Regions from separate parts of the Homo sapiens genome. Here regions 2, 3, 4, 5, 6 and 7 are each linked to region 1. The links are contacts of gene promoters, found by promoter capture Hi-C in blood cells and fetal thymus (Javierre and others, 2016). All regions are on one chromosome and are shown on one strand. The core of a region is centred on a gene start or on the middle of the fragment in contact, and the rest is flanking DNA. Distances in the headings are between cores, read along the strand shown.

Evidence for each region. Contacts are between HindIII fragments. The CHiCAGO score rates a contact against its expected background, and 5 or more counts as called.
Region 2: a contact is called between a fragment that was not itself captured here and the fragment with the promoter of KBTBD8 in region 1, in 1 of 17 cell types (naive CD4 T cells). The highest score is 6.2, in naive CD4 T cells.
Region 3: a contact is called between a fragment that was not itself captured here and the fragment with the promoter of KBTBD8 in region 1, in 2 of 17 cell types (fetal thymus and total B cells). The highest score is 5.3, in fetal thymus.
Region 4: a fragment that was not itself captured here is called in contact with the fragment with the promoter of KBTBD8 in region 1 in 2 of 17 cell types (fetal thymus and erythroblasts); the score reaches 7.9 in fetal thymus.
Region 5: a contact is called between a fragment that was not itself captured here and the fragment with the promoter of KBTBD8 in region 1, in 1 of 17 cell types (total B cells). The highest score is 6.7, in total B cells.
Region 6: a fragment that was not itself captured here is called in contact with the fragment with the promoter of KBTBD8 in region 1 in 3 of 17 cell types (fetal thymus, total B cells and naive B cells); the score reaches 11.8 in fetal thymus.
Region 7: a fragment that was not itself captured here is called in contact with the fragment with the promoter of KBTBD8 in region 1 in 9 of 17 cell types (fetal thymus, total B cells, monocytes and 6 more); the score reaches 26.1 in fetal thymus.

The regions. Positions count from the first base shown.
Region 1 is chr3:66,997,036-66,999,735 of GRCh38, reverse strand. KBTBD8 (kelch repeat and BTB domain containing 8) reads right to left here and starts at 1,429. Exons shown (of 4, transcript NM_032505.3): 1 at 1,365-1,429; 2 at 545-755. The coding sequence starts at 1,380. RefSeq lists a silencer at 1,012-1,331 and an enhancer at 1,672-1,771. The HindIII fragment of the contact is 2,180 bases long and covers 1-1,465 here.
Region 2 is chr3:67,940,336-67,943,035 of GRCh38, reverse strand. All of the region lies in intron 6 of SUCLG2-DT (SUCLG2 divergent transcript), which reads right to left. Among named protein-coding and RNA genes, the nearest start is that of TAFA1, 63 kb to the left of the region's middle. The HindIII fragment of the contact is 1,299 bases long and covers 679-1,977 here.
Region 3 is chr3:66,271,339-66,274,038 of GRCh38, reverse strand. All of the region lies in intron 5 of SLC25A26 (solute carrier family 25 member 26), which reads right to left. Among named protein-coding and RNA genes, the nearest start is that of SLC25A26, 52 kb to the right of the region's middle. The HindIII fragment of the contact is 948 bases long and covers 877-1,824 here.
Region 4 is chr3:66,252,131-66,254,830 of GRCh38, reverse strand. The region is part of intron 3 of SLC25A26 (solute carrier family 25 member 26); the gene reads right to left. Among named protein-coding and RNA genes, the nearest start is that of SLC25A26, 32 kb to the right of the region's middle. The HindIII fragment of the contact is 469 bases long and covers 1,133-1,601 here.
Region 5 is chr3:67,789,597-67,792,296 of GRCh38, reverse strand. All of the region lies in intron 3 of SUCLG2-DT (SUCLG2 divergent transcript), which reads right to left. Among named protein-coding and RNA genes, the nearest start is that of SUCLG2-DT, 140 kb to the right of the region's middle. The HindIII fragment of the contact is 1,924 bases long and covers 320-2,243 here.
Region 6 is chr3:66,295,844-66,298,543 of GRCh38, reverse strand. All of the region lies in intron 5 of SLC25A26 (solute carrier family 25 member 26), which reads right to left. Among named protein-coding and RNA genes, the nearest start is that of SLC25A26, 76 kb to the right of the region's middle. The HindIII fragment of the contact is 1,135 bases long and covers 877-2,011 here.
Region 7 is chr3:66,226,164-66,228,863 of GRCh38, reverse strand. All of the region lies in intron 1 of SLC25A26 (solute carrier family 25 member 26), which reads right to left. Among named protein-coding and RNA genes, the nearest start is that of SLC25A26, 6.5 kb to the right of the region's middle. The HindIII fragment of the contact is 7,505 bases long and covers 1-2,700 here.

The sequences.
Region 1 (2,700 bases), core at 180-2,679:
CATGTTTTAAACTATTTTATAAAAGAGTCCCATACACTAAAGAAACATGCATTATGGATAACTTTTTGAAAGAAATTCTAGATCAGCACTGTCCAATAAAATTGTCAATGATGAAAATGCTGTATTTCTGTGCTGCCCAATATGGCAGCCACTAGCTGCAGGTGACCAGCAAGCACTCAAAAAGTATTTAGTGTACCTGGGGAACTAAATGTTTTATTTTATTTAACTTATAATTTAAGTTTAAACAGCCACACATGGCTACTGGCTTCCATACTGACCAGCACAAGTCTAGATTTTCTGGTCATTTACCTCAAACACACACACACAGGCCCACTAACTTAAAAAGCAATCACCCGAAATCTAGAAGAATCCCTCAAGTCAAAAGAAGGTCTTAGTTAAGAGAGGACTTGTTTTCTAGTCTCAAGAAACAAAGTCATTGGTTTCATTTCATTATCGCATCTCAATATAAACATCAAGTGGACAATACTGAGGGGGAAAGGGAGCTTGGTGCAGATACCAACAGAAGTTCCTACCATCATCATACCTGAAGTAAGGGCTGATTGCAGCAAGAACGTTTCTATGACAGGAAAATGTTTTCCCGTGATCCACTTCCACTACAATGTCTGTCAACTGTCCTTCATCGTACATTGTTTTGAGTTGCTTAAGAATACTGCAAGCATGGAAGGGGTCCATGGCATCGCTGGCTGGGTCTGAAGATGGAATCCCATTCGGTGTTGGGGAAGACTTACTTAAATCTAGGAGGAGAAAAATCGTACAACTACAAGAAGTGCCGAGCCAGTTACGGCATCGCGGGATTTTTCTGTTTGTGTGTCTGCTTGCTAGGCTTTTTCCCCCTACAAGATATATACAAATGTCTGTGGATATACGCACGACCTCGTGGGACCGCGAGTTAAGGATCTGGGAGACAGAGGGCGGAGCGCGATCGGCGGAACAAGTTCAAAGGCCAGCCTGCTCCTGCGGAGCCCGGCGAGCCCGGCACCCGTGCTCGCGGAGGAAACGCGCTCGCAGCCCAGGAGAGGCGTCTGCGCGGACTCCGCCGAGAGCCGAGGGCAGAGCCTCACGAGGGAAGCTCGAACAACGGCGGCCGCCGGTGCCCCCTCAAGCCGCCTCCCGCTGCCTCCTGGGGCGCAGCGCCGGCGGGTACCCAGCCTCCCCATCCCGGTCCCGCCGGACCGCCCACCGCCCTCCGCACCATTCATCCTCCCTCTTCTCATTCCCCTCCACCGCTTCATCCTTCCCTCTAGCTCCGCACCGCTACGTCCTCATCCCACTGCCTGTGGCCGGCCCCGGCCCACCTTCCCCCTCACCTCCCTCCACGCCGCCCTGGCCACCACACGACCCACCTGCCGACGCGGCCATTTCTCGATGGGGCCCCGACTCCAGCTATTTAAAAAGGAAATGTCATTTCGCTTCTCTAGCTCCCGGGTTCCGGCTCTTCTAAGCTTCCCCTGGCCAATGGGGTGTCCTGTGCATCTGGCTCCACCCCTAGCCTCCGAATTCCTGGCGCTGATTGGCCACGACGCGAGCACATGCGTGTCGGGAAATGTAGTTTGATTGCCCCGGCTCCCGCGTGGTCCGGGTCGGGCGGAGGCCCAAGCCGGGAATTCCTATTGGCTGATTCGGATGGAGGTGGAGAGCAGGGAGCTGGCCAGCCTGTGGCCGTCGAGCGCGCAGTGCCTGCCGGGAGAGGTAGTCTTCTGGCGGAGGAGAACTGTCATTCTGAGGGGCTGGGGTAGGGAAAGCTCTTCAAGTGCGAATTTCCCCATTTTAGGCCTCTCTCCTGGCCCCCGGCACATTTTTTTACCTTTTTCTTCTTCCGTAAACTTCCTGCCAGTGACTAGCTTCCGGTATGAAATCAAGCTCTGCGTGAGAGCTGTAAAACCAGAAAAATGTGGAAATGGACAGGAGGGCTGTTGTCCAAAAATGCAAAGGAAATCTGACGTCCCACCCTGAAGAAAAATATCACAAGGCCCAAAAGCAAGGCGTCTCTGATGAGTCACCTATGACACCCAATTGAAATAGCATCGCCTTGGCCGGGTGCTCTGGTTTCCACAGATTAACTTGGTCTGGTTACAGCGGCTGCTTAGGATCTTCAACTCCCACTGGTGCCTTGCTTTTCTAGCACACCCAGAGAACACCTGTTCCTCACGTGAACATTACAAGGGGATCCAAGATGCTTTACTTTTTGCTCTTGGGAAATGGAGGGGATACAATACTAAGTATTCCGGAATTTCCTTTGAAAAAATACCGGAATGCCCTGAGCCCGGAGCCAGGGATGATTACTGAAGCCCTGGCTCTTTAGTCACTATATGTGAGAACTGACATAAGACCTTTCAACCCCTGAGCGCTTAGATCCTTCATCTGTAACGTGAAGTAATAGTAATCCGTACTCCATGGATTTCATAGGCTGCAACCTTTTGGAAAGAAAATCAAAATTTTACTGTTGACGAATTTTTATTTACTCATCTTGTGTTTCTAACATCTAACGGGGTGCCTGGCACATTATAGATGTTTCATATTTTAAAAATAAATGTAAGGTGCAAATGAGCTAACATTGGGAATGCTATTTCTAGATGTTAAAATGTAAGGAAGTATCAGCGAATGGGAAGAATTTCTAGTAGACATATAGTTAGCCCGTGTGCATAACTTTTCTAGCACTGAAAAGATCAAACCGTTGAA
Region 2 (2,700 bases), core at 79-2,578, 940 kb before region 1:
CAGGAGTAGGTACTTTTAATCTTTTTAAAATTTAAATAGGTAAAAAGGAACATATAGGTTGGGTGCGGTGCCTCATGCCTGTAATCCCAGCACTTTGGGAGGCCAAGGTGGGCGGATCATGAGGTCAGGAGTTTGAGACCAGCCTGGCCAATATGGTGAAACCCCATCTCTACTAAAAATACAAAAAAATTAGCTGGGCATGGTGGTATGTGCCTGTAGTCCCAGCTACTCGGGAGGCTGAGGCAGAAGAATCACTTGAACCCAAGAAGCATAGGTTGCAGTGAGCCGAGATGGCACCACTGCATTCCAGACTGGGGGACAGAGCGAGACTCCAACTCAAAAAACAAAAAAAAATACCGAAAAATTAAGTTTATCTTCTTTCGCTGTTCCATTTTAAAGGCAGTGTCATCATTGCCAGTGTGTTACGTATGCTTCCAGAGATGCTCCATTTGTTTTGTATATATATTGTACATGCATGTGTATTTGCATGTATGTTTACCTGCTCCCCTCCTTGATGCTTTGCACTTTACAGTTTGTCTTGGAACTCATTATCGGTATGTATAGATTTTAAAGCAGAGAGATTTGAAATGAGATGTTCCCAGGCCAAGGCATACGGGGGTTAATGGTTGAGTGACGGTAACGGCCAGTCCTCCAGTAAATAGAAGACTGTTAAAAGCTTCACATTTTCTATTCACTTTTCAGTACTTTTTTATTCCTTTCACTGACAGGGTATGATTGCCAGAAAGTTGGGGATCATTAGAGGCCATTTCTTTCCCTCTCTCTTTGAAGCAACGTTTAATGGACCTATAGTACATGCTTAAGCCTGCAGTCGTCACTGATTTAAATAAAAAATCAGTCCCAAAACCTGAAAGGGCTGAGAGAATGGGACTTCAATTTGGACCTAGGTCTTATAAGGGTTTAATTATTTGTTTATGGAAATATTTTATTGTCTTAATGATATTAGTCATTATTTAATAAGAAGTCATGTATTGCCTAAGACTGTCTTACGTGGGGGATCAATTTACAACCTTAAAAGAAAACCAAATGCTGAGAAAAGCAGCAACCAAGTGTCAGAATGTCTGGTTTATAGACCCCAAGCCCAGAAATAATTAGATCATGCAGGCAGGGATCTTACAGATGCAAGTACTGTGTTCAAAGAACAAGGCCACACTTACTCAGAAGCCAAGTTTATCCAACTCAGGATTCTGCATCTTTCAGAGGAACATTTGTGGCTCGACGATTGCCCATCATGAAATCACCTTTAAAAATAGAATGATGCACCACAAGCACATCTAAATTCCTTTTAGCATCTAGTACAGAAAAACAAATCAGTGATGTAGTTTCTAAATTTCTGAAACAGTTTCTAGTCTGTATTATGTATTGAAGAGACATGGCTTGGGTTTGGTTTGGTTTTGGTTTTGGTTTTTTTATTCTTTTCATCTATACCACCTACTTTAGATGACTTTAGCTACATCCTGAAGATATAAAGTCAATAACATAGTAGCAAGTTATTATAAGAAATTAAATCTGCAGTTCTTTTTTAATAATCAGATTAAATTCAGGATACATTTCCTAACATAAGAATTTCAAAGTGCTTAAAATCTGGGACAGATTTTTTTTCAGCAATGTTACGGGAACTAACGTGGGAGGAAGAAGGGGGGGAGGCAGAAGAAAAGGAAGAAAAGGAGGAAGGAGAGGGGGAAAAAGGCAGGTTGAGGGGAGGAGGAGGGAGGGAGAGAGGAAGAGAACCAAGATAGCCTACTCCCAAAAGTAGTGTTTCCATGGAGAAGCAATGCTATTAGAGACACTTAGCTTGCAAGATGACTAGGACACATTCTTAACTTTATATTGGAAGATTACCATGTATGCTAGTTTTATCTCATATGAGGCAGCAAATTTTCTTAGAATACCAACAAGTGGGCTTCAGAGAATTATATAGTGAGGACACAGTGATCACTACAAAAATAAACAAAAGCTTTCGGTTTATTTCTCACTGGGAGAGAGTCTGTAAAAGGCTGAACTTTTTGAAAAGTGAAATCTGATGCAAAAACTTCATCTAAGGAAACATTAGCTTGAACATCCGGGGAGGTGGGAGTAGAAATCGTCTCACACTATTTTTTCCTCTCTATTATATTTTCTCTTCCTGATAATTTTGGGAATAACATCATGTCCTATATTCTGTCAGCTACTGCTAATGCTCTGAACTTTCAGTTCCTGCCTGGCAGGGATCCATCAATCCACAGTCTTTTCACTATTAAACCTATTTCTCAATGTAGGTCACTTGAGTCCAAATTACTCAGTTACAGATAAAATATAACCCTCCACTAGAGGGATGTATTTTTATCCCAACATTCAAAGAGTTGCCTTTTTAACATGGCCTAGTGTTAATGGAGGTTACACTCATAACTCTTCAAGAAGAAACTATAACTTAGAAATCTACTCTCCCCTTGATAATTAGGTTTAACTTCTATTAACATAAAATGAGAATTATGTGACTTAGAGGAAGTGAGATAAGGTGCCTTAGTTTAAACTAATGATGAAAATTGTGACTTCTCCATATTGTGGAAGTCTCTTCTGAAATCATACTAGCATTTAGGGAAATGCCACTATAACCCCCACAGCTGTTGCCTAGAACCCAAATATTGAGAAAGAAATTAGGAAGCTCTGTATCATGTCTGTATGTTGTTAGTGACACTGAAC
Region 3 (2,700 bases), core at 101-2,600, 730 kb after region 1:
CCAGTACCATGCTGTTTTGGTTACTGAAGCCTTGTAGTATAGTTTGAAGTCAGGTAGTGTGATGCCTCCAGCTTTGTTCTTTTGGCTTAGGACTGACTTGGCGATGCGGGCTCTTTTTTGGTTCCATATGAACTTTAAAGTAGTTTTTTCCAATTCTGTGAAGAAAGTCATTGGTAGCTTGATGGGGATGGCATTGAATCTAAAAATTACCTTGGGCAGTATGGCCATTTTCACGATATTGATTCTTCCTATCCATGAGCATGGAATGTTCTTCCATTCGTTTGTATCCTCTTTTATTTCATTGAGCAGTGCTTTGTAGTTCTCCTTGAAGAGGTCCTTCACGTCCCTTGTAAGCTAGATTCCTAAGTATTTTATTCTCTTTGAAGCAATTGTGAATGGGAGTTCACTCATGATTTGGCTCTCTGTCTATTATTGGTGTATAAGAATGCTTGTGATTTTTGTACATTGATTTTGTATCCTGAGACTTTGCTGAAGTTGCTTATCAGCTTAAGGAGACTTTGGGCTGAGACAATGGGGTTTTCTAGATATACAATCATGTCGACCAATAACAGGATCTGAAATTGTGGCAATAATAGCTTACCAACCAAAAAGAGTCCAGGACCAGATGGATTCACAGCCGAATTCTACCAGAGGTACAAGGAGGAACTGGTACCATTCCTTCTGAAACTATTCCAATCAATAGAAAAAGGGAATCCTCCCTAACTCATTTTATGAGGCCAGCATCATCCTGATACCAAAGCCAGGCAGAGATACAACCAGAAAAGAGAATTTTAGACCAATATCCTTGATGCACATTGACGCAAAAATCCTCAATAAAATACTGGCAAACCGAATCCAGCAGCACACCAAAAAGCTTATCCACCATGATCAAGTGGGCTTCATCCCTGGGATGCAAGGCTGCTCCAATATACACAAATCAATAAATGTAATCCAGCATATAAACAGAACCAAAGACAAAAACCACATGGTTATCTCAACAGATGCAGAAAAGGCCTTTGACAAGATTCAAAAACCCTTCATGCTAAAAACTCTCAATAAATTAGGTATTGATGGGACTTATCTCAAAATAATAAGAGCTATCTATGACAAACCCACAGCCAATATCATACTGAATGGGCAAAAACTGGAAGCACTCCCTTTGAAAACTGGCACAAGACAGCGATGCCCTCTCTCACCACTCCTATTCAACACAGTGTTGGAAGTTCTGGCCAGGGCAATTAGGCAAGAGAAACAAATAAAGGGTATTCAAATAGGAAGAGAGGAAGTCAAATTGTCCCTGTTTGCAGCAGTAATTAATTTTTGAACAAGAAATGAAGGTAATTTCAAACATCAGTGCATGCAAAGGTAACAGGTGAGTGATCAGGGATGGGGTAGGTCTATTTTAGCTGGAGTGATCACAGGAGGTCCCTCAGAGAAGGGGCATGTAAACTAACACCTAGATAAAGGAAAATCACGCAAACGTGATAATATGCACTTACAAGCCACAGTTCTTCATGAACACTTCCATCAACACAGATTCCTTACACTTGCTTATTTCCTCTAATTAATTTATTTTTAATATCATGTAGACTTCCAGTTTCCCCAAACTCCTGGCACTAACGCCTATCTAAAGGCTTAAAGACTACAGATATAAATATGGATTACTCATTTTAAATACATATTTTCCTCCCCAGAAAAAATTTATCTGTTTATAAAATGTAAAATACACAGCTCACCATAAAGGTTAAGTTCATGGATTCTGGAGTCCTCTGATCTCTCCCTTACTGGTATGAGACCCTGGGCCAACCACAAACTTACCAAGCTTTAGTTTCTGTCAAGTAGGGATCGCATTTTGGGCTGCTGTGAGGATTATGTGAAATAATGTATGTAAACAACTTAGCACAGTGACTGGAACATTTTAAGTACTTGGTAAATGTAAACAGTTTATTTCCATCTAAAATGACACACATTTTTTAGGTGTTTACATATGAATATATCAATATAAGAAGTATTCTCAGATTTTAACTTTAAAATCAAAACTACATATAAAAGTAAATAAATCAGAAGTAAATTCATGTCTTCAATTTCAGTGAGACCACCAAATAATTTTTAAAGATGAGTTTCTACACTAGTGCCCAAAAGAACAAAGGTGGCAGAAAAAGAAAACGAACAGACATTTCCATTTACAGAGGAGAATGACCAAAAAAAAAAATAGTGGTACAGACAATTACTCATGGATCTTAACAACGATGGATGCCCACATGTGGGCTGAAGCTAGAGATGTATGAAATGGTCTTCTTTCTGAAGAGATGAAACTTTAGCTGGAAGGGTTTGAAGGGACAGAATACGGCAGATCCTATGGGGTGACTCAGTAACGGTAGTACCACTGCCCCCAGTCCACCCTTTGCCTGACTTCATCTACTACAGTGAAAAGCTACATACTCAACTTCCCAATCCCCACGCAACTCATAAAGGCCCTGAGATACCATCTGTCCCAGGAAAGTTTTTGTTTTCGAGATAAACAAAAGGACAGATAAAGTTAGTACTGCCTCATGCCCTTCCCCTTCTTCATAGTTCTGGAATAGAACTATGATGCCTGAAAGCAGAACAGCCATTTTGTGACCATGAGTCAATTAGCCAGAGCATTAAAGTTAGCCAGGCAAAATGAAAGAGACTGGATTCTCCTTGCCCTCATCTAAC
Region 4 (2,700 bases), core at 118-2,617, 740 kb after region 1:
ATTTTTCTCCAAGAAACTCCATCAACTACCTGCAAATATTCCTCTGATATTAGAAGCTAATTATGTCACCATTTTATATATAAATCAATCTGAGATCATAGAAGTTGCTGAAGGTCAGAGAGCTACTTAGCTCAGGAAGCATGGGTGAAACCCAAGTGTTCTGACTATCATCTCCAGAATTATTTTTCAATAAAGATGTCATACTTACACACATCTAATGCACTTAGAGGTTCAAGGTTTAATTTCAGCTAATGCTTCATGTTTCAACAGGCAACTCTATAACCAATTCAACAGAAATTTAACAATACACTGAACAGAGCCACTCAAAGCTTCATCGTATTCAAAGCAAAAGCTGCTTTGGACTTTCCAGAGCAAACTCAAAGTGGCAAATTAGTAAGACAGGGGGTCAGGGAGAGACCCCTGGAAACTATGAAGATTTTTGAAATGCAATTTGCTTACGTGTATTTCATTTCCACATTCTCTTTGTAATTCCCAAAATTCTCTTTAGAAAGCAGGTTTCCAATTAAGAATATTTTACATCTCTTTCTATACCATCATTTAAAAAATCAAAAACCTCTACAACAGTTCATTTGTGTGTCAAGTCTGCCATCTTCTGTTGATAAATGGAATTACAGCTGTTGACAAAACCAATTTACAAATCCTAACTTACACTCCTTAGATTTTAATTTTTACCTACTTGCATTGGGACCTATGTTCATCAAACCTTTCCCCCTTATAAGACTCTTTCCAATCACGCAAATAAGTTCAATCGTTGTAGGTATTAGTCTTCCCTCGCCTGACAAGACTGCTGTCACGGGTAATACAGACTACACAAGGAAGTCTTCTCAAAGAAAATAACTCTATCAACACTTAGTCCCTGTGTCTACAATTTGTTCACAGAATTTTATACAACCCAAAAGATAAGCCTCAAATGGCTTTTTTGCTTTTGTATTTTTCCATAACAGAAATGAGCCATGATTTCACAGGAGGTGACAAACATCCCATGGATGGATTTATAGATTCCCACCAATACAAAAATCTGAACGTTGAGGAGGTGGCAATGGTGACTGTATTTGCTTCCTACTGCTGCTCTGACAAATCACCACACATTTAGTGGCTTAAAACATAAGCTTATTATCTATAATTCTGAAGGTATGAATTCCAAAATGGGTCTTCCTGAGCTAAGACCGAGAGATGTCAGTCAGGCAGTATGCCTTCTGGAAGCTGCAAGGGAATGTTGACTTCCTGCTTTCTAGGGCTCCCCTGCACTCCTTGGTTTGTGGCCCCTCGCTCTATCTTTGGACCAGCAGTATACCATCTTCAGCTCTCTGACCCCCGCTCCCCTCTCCTAAGGACCCTACTGATTAGACTGGGCCCACGTGGATAATCCAGAAAACTCTTTCCACCTCAACATTTTTTTTTTTTTTTTGAGATGGAGTCTCACTCTGTCACCCAGGCTGGAGTGCAGTGGCGCGATCTGCAAGCTCCACCTCCCAAGTTCACCCCATTCTCCTGCCTCAGCCTCCCGAGTAGCTGGGACTACAGGCGTCCACCACCATGCCCGACTAACTTTTTTTTGCTTTTTTTTTTAGAGACAAGCTTTCACCGTGTTAGCCAGGACGGTCTTGATCTCCTGACCTCACGATCCGCCCGCCTTAGCCTCCCAAAGTGCTGGGATTACAGGCATGAGCCACTGCGCCCGGCCCCCATCTCAACATTCTTAATATTATCTGCCAAATCTCTTTCCCGTGTGAAGAAACACATTCAGAGATTTGGGGACTAGGACATATTTATGGGGGGGGGGGGGCATTATTTTGCCTATCACAGTAACCAACGGCAAATTTTGGAACCTGACCTTTTAAGAAACCAGTGATGTGAATCCTTACTGCACAAGTAGTATACTTACCGCTACTTCTGCCATTTTTTAAATACTACATGAAAAAGAAAACAGAGGTGCTCCTGGAAGTATACAGAGAAATATTTATCTAATTACTTATTCTACAGTGGTGTTTTATTATTAGCTGGGAATAATAATAGCTGGGAAACTTGGAGCACATCACTAAACTTCTTTGAATTTCAATTTTTTCACCTTCTGAATAGATACCTTTCCCAAAACTAGGAAATTCTAAAAACGTGCCGCATTCAGCAACTTGTGTGAAATGGGGCTAGACCCAATGTTTATTCAATATTTTGTGTGTCAGATGCTAGGCTGGACACTTTGTTAAGTGCTGTATAATTTCATCCTTGTAAGAACTGTGACTGGGATGGCATTAATCCTATTTTTTCAAGATGAGGAAAAGAGCATTTCAGTGAAGGCAAGTAAATGGCCTACAGACAAATAAGTGGACAAGTCACAAATCTGACCCCGATCTGTGTAACTTGACAGCCCATGGTCCATACCTTGCTACCTCCCTACAGACATCCTCAAATACTCCCTAGTTATTTAACAGATGGATCCAACTTACTTATATGCTCCTCAAAAACGGGGATCAAATTTCTTATTCGGTGTCTCTTAGCACCTATTAATAGTATTAGCTATACAACTCAAATATTGAAAAGCACACAATCACAAACCAAAGCAAATAAGTGACAGTTGCATTTAATTCAAGAACCCTAATCTTAACAAGGCAATATTTTAGGAAATAAAGGTTTGTCACTGACAGAGTTCAGGCTCGCTTGGAAGTGGCCAATCCTAACCTC
Region 5 (2,700 bases), core at 32-2,531, 790 kb before region 1:
TATCTTTTTTATCACTTGTTTAATATTACCTTATACCTCTACAGAATAACTATCTTTTCCAAAACACTTTCACATACACTATCTCATATCATCTATAACTATTCTTTGAACAGAGATACACATTACCATGACACCTTGACCATCAAAGAACAAGGAGAAGGAAGCATCAAATCCAAGGTCAGGAGGAGCAGGAATTAGAACACAGGACACTTTTTTCTACACTGTGCCTCACCCAATTGACAGCATATGACATGATGAGGTTAGGGAAGAATGACAAAATTATGCCTGGCCCATGCCTTTTAGGGGTTTCTGGTAAGCTTTTAAATAACAGCATGGGGTTTGTTTTCAGCTTATGATCTACTCCAATATCCACATTGTTTTTTGCTGTGTCTATGCATAGCCTGGCATTCCAGTCTTGGAATCATGTCTTTCACATTTGTCCATATTGACTTTGCTTCCATATGAAATATTTACATAGGTTTATCACTTTGTCATCATTTAGAGTGGCATCTGTTTGCCAAAAACGAGTCAGGTCTCAGTCACGGCGGCTTGTTGGATCGGTGTGAGCGTCTCTGAAGGAAAGGAGAAATTGCCTTTTGATAGGCTCCCTTAACATTGAGTTACTTTATTAATTATTAACTGACATTTCATTATCTTTTGCTTTCAAATATGTTTTGGGTGTTTTCCTTCATTTCAGACTTACAACAACCTGTGGGATATGTTAAACAACTTTTATTATCCTACGTATTGGCTGTTGGAAGGTGAAATTATTTAAAAATGTCACAGAGCTAAAAGCATGATGACCCAGGTCTCCTACTTCTCAGGCCTGTGGTCTTTTTTATTAAATATGCTAAGTCACCTTATTAAAGAAAACACTAAGAAACAATGACTTTTCAAACATTCCAGAGACTAATTTTGTAATTAAACTAAGAGCTACCACTTGGTGAGCATCTAAGTTTTAATTTACATCTATAAAATAATATTAAAATGCTTTCTGTTCCTTCTGGAAACCAACTAAAGTCCCAAAGTCCCAAGAGACTATAGAAAACCTCATATTTAAAAAAGAAGGTGGCCAAATTGGTCATTTTACCCACACCCCCATCATCTCATCCAGCTCATATAGGCAGAAGACTAGAGTTAAGAGAGATTGTTGAATCAGGAAATTGTTGGCTGAGTGGCTATTGCACAAACCAAGTTAGGGCATTTCCATGAAGTGAACGAAGGCTGATTATCAGATGGGTAGATTAAGGTTTCATTCCCTGGCAGCCTGCTTGCGGGTGGACAGAAAAACATGTTAGTGTTCCCCAACCTATCCCCATTCCCCAAGACAGAACTCGGTGGCAGAATTCTTGAAGGAGGTTTACATGTATTCCTTAACTATGGGAGCATAAGCAAAACAAGAAGCTGCTATTTACTTCCTTTCTGAGGTTTTCTGAGTTTACCATCTGAAGATGGTAAACTGGCTGCAGACAACACCAATAACAGGGAGAGGAGAGGGCAACAGTGGAGACTGTCTACACAGCAAGCATGACAAGTCTCCTGTATACCAAGAATCTTCACCTGTCTCAGACCAACCTGATGGGGCCACACCCAATATCACTCCATGAAGGGAGCAATGAGCCCGCAACAGAAATAAGCTGTGGTGTGAACCACAAAGGCAGCAGCTAGTCAGTGCCTCCAAATCCTCAAGCAGTGGGAGATGAGCATAATTAAATAATTGCCCTGACTTATGTCAAGTTCCCTAGAAGCACAGATTGAGACAGAAATTCACATGCATGAGTTTTAGTGATAGAGATGCCTCAGGAGAAACCAGTAAAAGGAGGGAATAAAACAGAAGAGGGAAGAAAAAAGAGCCAAGCTAGTGTGAGATCACAGGTCCATCTAGCCAGATTCATGGGTAGAAAAGGGCTCTGTAGCTTAAATTACCCATCAGAATCATCTCCTATTGAGGCAAAGGGCTGGCCTTATGTGTCTCTGTCATTCATCCGCTCTTGGCAACTGGAGTGAGAGTGGGCTAAACTAAAAACAATTCTCAGGAGAAGGAGCAGGGGGCAGCAGTGAGCCATTCAATGCTCAGGGTAATGGGGGATGTGTGCAATAGAGCAGACAAGAGGATCCACTTGGGGAACCAACAGCACTCCTACATCCCCTTCTTCCAAAGAGAATGTTCCAAGGTATCTTCCACGTGGTATTTCAGAGAGATGGAGCCCCAGTTACCCATAGTAATGACCTGCTCTAAAGCTTTTGTTGGTTTTTATTTTTTCCTCTTTTCCTCTTTTCTTCACTTGTACTACCTGCACCCACTTTCCAGATAGACTAACTGCACCCATATTCTTCTCTCAAGATCATTTCAGGGGAAATCCAAATTAAGACAACTATCCAAATGAAATGATTGTTATCACTGAAGGTTCCCAACAGCCATGGGCTCCAATTAGATAGCTTTAAGGAGCAAGAAATTAAAGATCGTGTTGGGGGGAAAAACAAAATAAAGCTCTTTCCTGCTTGCACCACTATGAAATTTACATTGGTTAACAAATTGATACCCATTCATTATCTCATTTAATCCTCACAGCAACATTCTGTAGTAGGTATAATTATCTCCACTTTACATGAAAAAACAGAGGTTCAAAGAAGGTAAGGGTGTTGCCCAAAGCCTCCCAGCTGAGATTCAAGTTCATGTTATTTAATTCTAAAGCCAGC
Region 6 (2,700 bases), core at 195-2,694, 700 kb after region 1:
ATGTAATTCTTTTATTCTGAAAACTGTTTATTACAAATCATCAGTTTTGAAATAATTCAAAGTGATCTCCCACCAAAAAAAGAAAACCCCACAAAGAAATAAATCATATTTACTTTTCTGTCCATTAAAAATATGCTGAAAGTGACACAGATGTACCTCTCAGAAATTTCTCATTATATTAAAACTTATCCACAATTTATGACAAGGAGTTTTACTAGAGAAAATATTAATTTCACCAGCTTAGTAATAATATCCAACATTTCATTTTCCTCCTGATATACCTATCAAATGGTTTTGGTATTTAAGCTCTTCTTTTTTTCAAAACAGAAGAAAATCTGTTAACTGAACTTTGTATCACCTAGTCCAGTGGTTCTCACACTTCAGAATGCATCAGAATCATGCAGAGGGTGTATAACACAAATTCTGGGCCTCACCCCAAGTTTCTGATTCAGAAGATCTCAAGTGGGGACTTAGATTCTGCATTTCTAGCAAGTTCCTAGGGAATGCAGCTGCTATTCGTGGAGGGACTGTACTTTGGGAACCAATGATCTACTCAGTATTTTCCTTCTTTTCATAATTTGCAAATTTGATAACGAGGAAATGATATGCTATATCCTTTAAAGACAGACATCTTTTGAGAACTTAGAATTAAAGAGAAATTGACAAAAAGGAAATCTAATCTAAGGCACAGCACAGCCCTCAAAGATGATCTAGTCTAGGATTCAGAAAACTTTTTCTGTAAAGAGTCAGATAATAAATAGCTTAGGCTTTATGGTCCATACAGTCTCTGTTACAACTACTCAACTCTGCCACTGTTGTGTGAAAGCAGACAGACAATACATAAATGAAAGAAAGTGGCTGCATGCCAATAAAGCTTTATTACAAAAACAGGCTGTGATCTGGATTAGGCCCACAGGTCATAGTTTACCAACTATTTTTTAAAAAAGGAAATCAATACCCAGAGAGATTAAACAACTTCAAAAGGCACAAGATAGCGAGTGGCAAAACTGCAACTAGACCTTCAGTGTCCTGATGTCTGATGTACTAAGGAAGCTACTGTTATAGTAATATTTTGATAAAGAACAGCCACAAATGGAATGCATTACAAAACCTCATGTAGCTTAATGATCAAAAAGAAAAAATGACTTTACTAAGCAAAAGAGCATCTCAGTTCTAGAATTAATGCCAGACATTCTTTTTTTTTTTTTTTTTTTTGAGATGGAGTTTCACTGTTGTTGACCAGGCTGGAGGGCAATGGCACGATCTTGGCTCACTGCAACCTCCACCTCCCGGATTCAAGCAATTCTCCTGCCTCAGCCTCCCGAATAGCTGGGATTACAGGCACCCACAACCATGCCCAGCTATTTTTTTTGTATTTTTAATAGAGATAGGGGTTTCATCATGTTGGCCTGGCTGGTTTTGAACTTCTGACCTCAGGTGATCCACCCGCCTCAGCCTCCCAAAGTGCTGGGATTACAGGCGTGAGCCACCGCACCTCGCTCAATGCCAAACATTCTTATTCTTATTATTACTTATAAATGGGAGGCTTCCACCATTGGACAACAATCTGGACTCTTGTCACATGGCTTCCTGCAGCCTACACTAGGTTGGAGCAGGGCCTACGCCAGTCAAGCCTTCTGTTCAGGGAGTGTGGAAAACAGAATCGAGGACTTCTCAGTTCTTACCCTCTTGGTCCTGCACCTTTCTCATCCCATCTGCAATCCATTTTATGCCATTCGTTAAAAAAATTCTTCCCAGTACTAAAATTATGGTTAAGAGCCAAAAGAGGTAGTAAACTATGAAACTTAAGTTAAAAACAATGCTTCTGTTCAAAGTTTTATTTTCATTCTAGTGATTAAATAATTATTAAGTTAAATATAATATTTAGCTAATAAAAGTAAAGCAGACATTTATCTTCACTACTTAGATACCTAAAAGTATACTATGCATACACACACAATACATTCACATATGAACACATACTCCCTATGCTTTCATAGTTGCCAAAGCTTTTACTCTTAAAACTGATTATTTAAATAAGCAATATATTTTAGCAATTAATAAAGTAAATTTTATGTATGGCCTTACAACTATTTTATGACAGTTTATTTTTAAAAATAAAGCAAATGCATGTATATCAGGAAAATAAAATAACTTGATTTTAAGTATCTGAGATAAAGTTTTGAACATGTTTGATGTACTCTAAACCATGCATGGAAAAGCATCTGTTATTTACAGATCAAAGCAAACCTGAGTATCCTAAAACAACTAGAGTGAAAAATTCCCAAATTTAATTTCATCCCTGTCCACATGCTTCTTTGAACTAATAATTCAGAGAATTGGTCAGTATGTTGAACTAATTAGCATGCTTAATGCTTGCCAACTTTGATGGCTCCAATTCTTTAAGAAATTTTTTTTTTATTTTCCAAGACGGAGTCTTGCTCTGCCACCCAGGCTGCAGTGCAATGGTGCGATCACGGCTCATTGCAACCTCCGCCTCCCGGGTTCAAGCTATTCTCCTGCCTCAGCCTCCTGAGTAGCTGGGATTACAGGTGCCTGCCACCATGCCCAGCTAATTTTTGTATTTTTATTAAAGATGAGGTTTCACCATGTTGGTCAGGCTGGTCTCGAACTCCTGACCTCGTGATCCACCCATCTCGGCTTCCCAAAGCTGGGATTACAGGCGTGAGCCACCGTGCC
Region 7 (2,700 bases), core at 112-2,611, 770 kb after region 1:
TCAGCATCAACTTCAAAAACTTAAAGAGAAATATAAGTGTTCAAATTGCTTTATGATTCTTGAATTCAAACTTACATGTTAATTTTTTAAAGTAGAATATAAAATTATACCTATATGACCTCAGCTATGAAAAAGTTGCATAAGCACTTTTAAAGTGCTCAGTAAACAGTTAAGTGTTACCACCACTTGGAATTATATAATTAAGTTTCGTTTAGCATCTGCCTCCTACTAGACTCTAAATCCCTGAAGGTGGGGGACCATATTTTTCAGGCATTCAACCCCAAATAACACAGCAAAGGCCAACAAATGTATCTGGTTAAGCATGTAAAAGACACCTGATTTGGGGAGGTGAGATAACTGTGGGTGTAACTTTTATCTTTCCTTTATTTGGAATTTAATTAATGTTACCCAAATTTTGTCTGTATTACAAAAGATTTAATATTTAGAGCAACTTTCAACATGTAGTAGTAGGGTTTGGAAGTGGTAACAAAACCACATTAACAAGTCACTTACAGCTAAGTTATCAAATACTAAAACTTTCCAAGTATGCCTTTCTTAAACAGAAAGAAAAATGAAAAAAGAAAGGTAGTCCCATCTGTGGGTAGTAGAGATGCACAAAAAAATGCCTCCATCACAGTGGTGGTTATCAGTTGTGGTCCTTGCATGATTGGTGCTCTCCAAGCAGTGCTTTGCATGCTCCACGGGCTGAGCAAAATTTGGAATATACTTGTGTTTAGATAATTTCTTGCTCAACACAAAAGCAAGCAAAAAGGGAAGACCTGCTCACTCTGACGTAAATGCCAAAAATAAACAAGTCACACAAGTCCTGAGAAAGAGAAGCATAATTCTCAATTTTTTATAAATTTGGAGATAATCTTTAAAGATGCCCTTTACTCCAAATTGAAAACTAGGAGGTCACTATCCAGAAAAGATAAGAGGCAAAACAAGAAAAACAACAAAACAGAAAACCTCTTTTAATAGTATACCCAATACTTCATTCGTATTACCTTTCTTCACTCCACCCAAGAACCCCTGCCATCATAACCCACATTGTTCCCCTCAAGTATCCTACTGCCTGTAAGGTGGTTCTCAGCAGAAGGGCAGGTCCAGTGAGAAGACACCCAAGTATCACGAAAAAGCTCCCCAGATGACAGCACCAGCCAAAAATCACCTCACTAAAAACAGGAAAACAAAAACTACAAGCGGTCCTCACTTTGCATGGTACCTACATACATGAATTTCAGTTACCATGATTTACTTAAATAACATGAATCTCCCAATGACCCAGGTCAAATTTCAGTTACCACAGCATATTAACTATGAGTAACTGGATAAAGTGTAAACTTCACCACTTGTTCAGTCCACAAATCACAATACAATTAACAGAAATCACTGCCTATTACTCAGTTTACGCACAGACAGCAAATAGTTGTTACCTCATCTCCCAGTAATAAATGCACACGACATTTTATAAAAATAGACAGAAAACTGATGAACAAAGATGAAAATGCAAAAAAAATGAAAAGTGGTAACACAAAGTTAAACAAAAATCAGACATAAATGGTATTAGAGAACAAACAGCTGGCCATGGAAATATTCACACTGCTGTCATTAATCTAGATAAGTAACTAGAAAAAATAAGTGAGAGCAAATTTAACATAAATAAGGAAAGTAGTTGTGATGAAAAGGATGAAAATGTCCCAGACTAAGTTATGTCAGCAAGTCTTCGCATTAAACGAACTCACAACATTGAAAGCACAAAAAATAAAATGTTAGAAGTTGATCCAAACTGAGAAAGCAGTATGACAACTTGCCAAGGCATAAAAAGATGCTTCTTCTATAATACATAATGAGAACACAAGCAAATGTTCAAACTACTGTTGATAAGGTTTTGTCCAAAAAATTAAGTTATTAATGTTTCTAATGTTTTTAATTACAGTGTACTAAATAAACATCAGCTTTGCAATTTTTCCCCTATATATTACAACCAAAGCGTTTTTAATGTTTTGACAAAAATTCTTAGGGTGGGCCAGGTGTGGTGGCTCATACCTGTGACACCTCTTTCTACAAAAAAAATTTTCTAAAAACTGTAAGAACAACATGGGCTGGGCTCAGTGGCTCATGCCTGTAATCTCAGCACTTTGAAGCTGAGTCAGGAGGATTGCTTGAGGCCAGTACTTCAAAACCAGCCCTGGCAACACAGCAAGACCCTGTCTCTACAAAACAAGAAAATTTTTAATTAAAAAATTAGCCAGGCGTGGTTGGTGCATGCCTCTAGTCCCAGCTACTCAGGAGGCTGAGGTGGGAGGATCACTTGAGCAGAGACAGCACCACTGCACTCCAGCCTGGGCAACAGAGGAAGACCTTGTCTCAAAAAAAAAAGAAAAGAACGCACATGAAATGGTTTGGCTCTGGGTCCCCAACCAAATCTCATCTTGAATTGTAGCTCCCATAATTCCCACATGTTGTGGGAGGGGCCTGGTGGGAGGTAATTGAATCATGGTGGCAGGTCTTTCCCATTCTGTTCTGGTGATAGTGAATAAGTCTCACAAGATCTGATGATCTCATAAAGGGGAGTTCTCCTGCATACGCTCTCATCTGCAGCCATGTAAGACGTGACTTTGCTCCTCCTTTGCCTTCTACCATGATTGTGAGGCCCCTCTGCCAGCCATGTGGAACTGTTAGTCCATTAAACCTCTT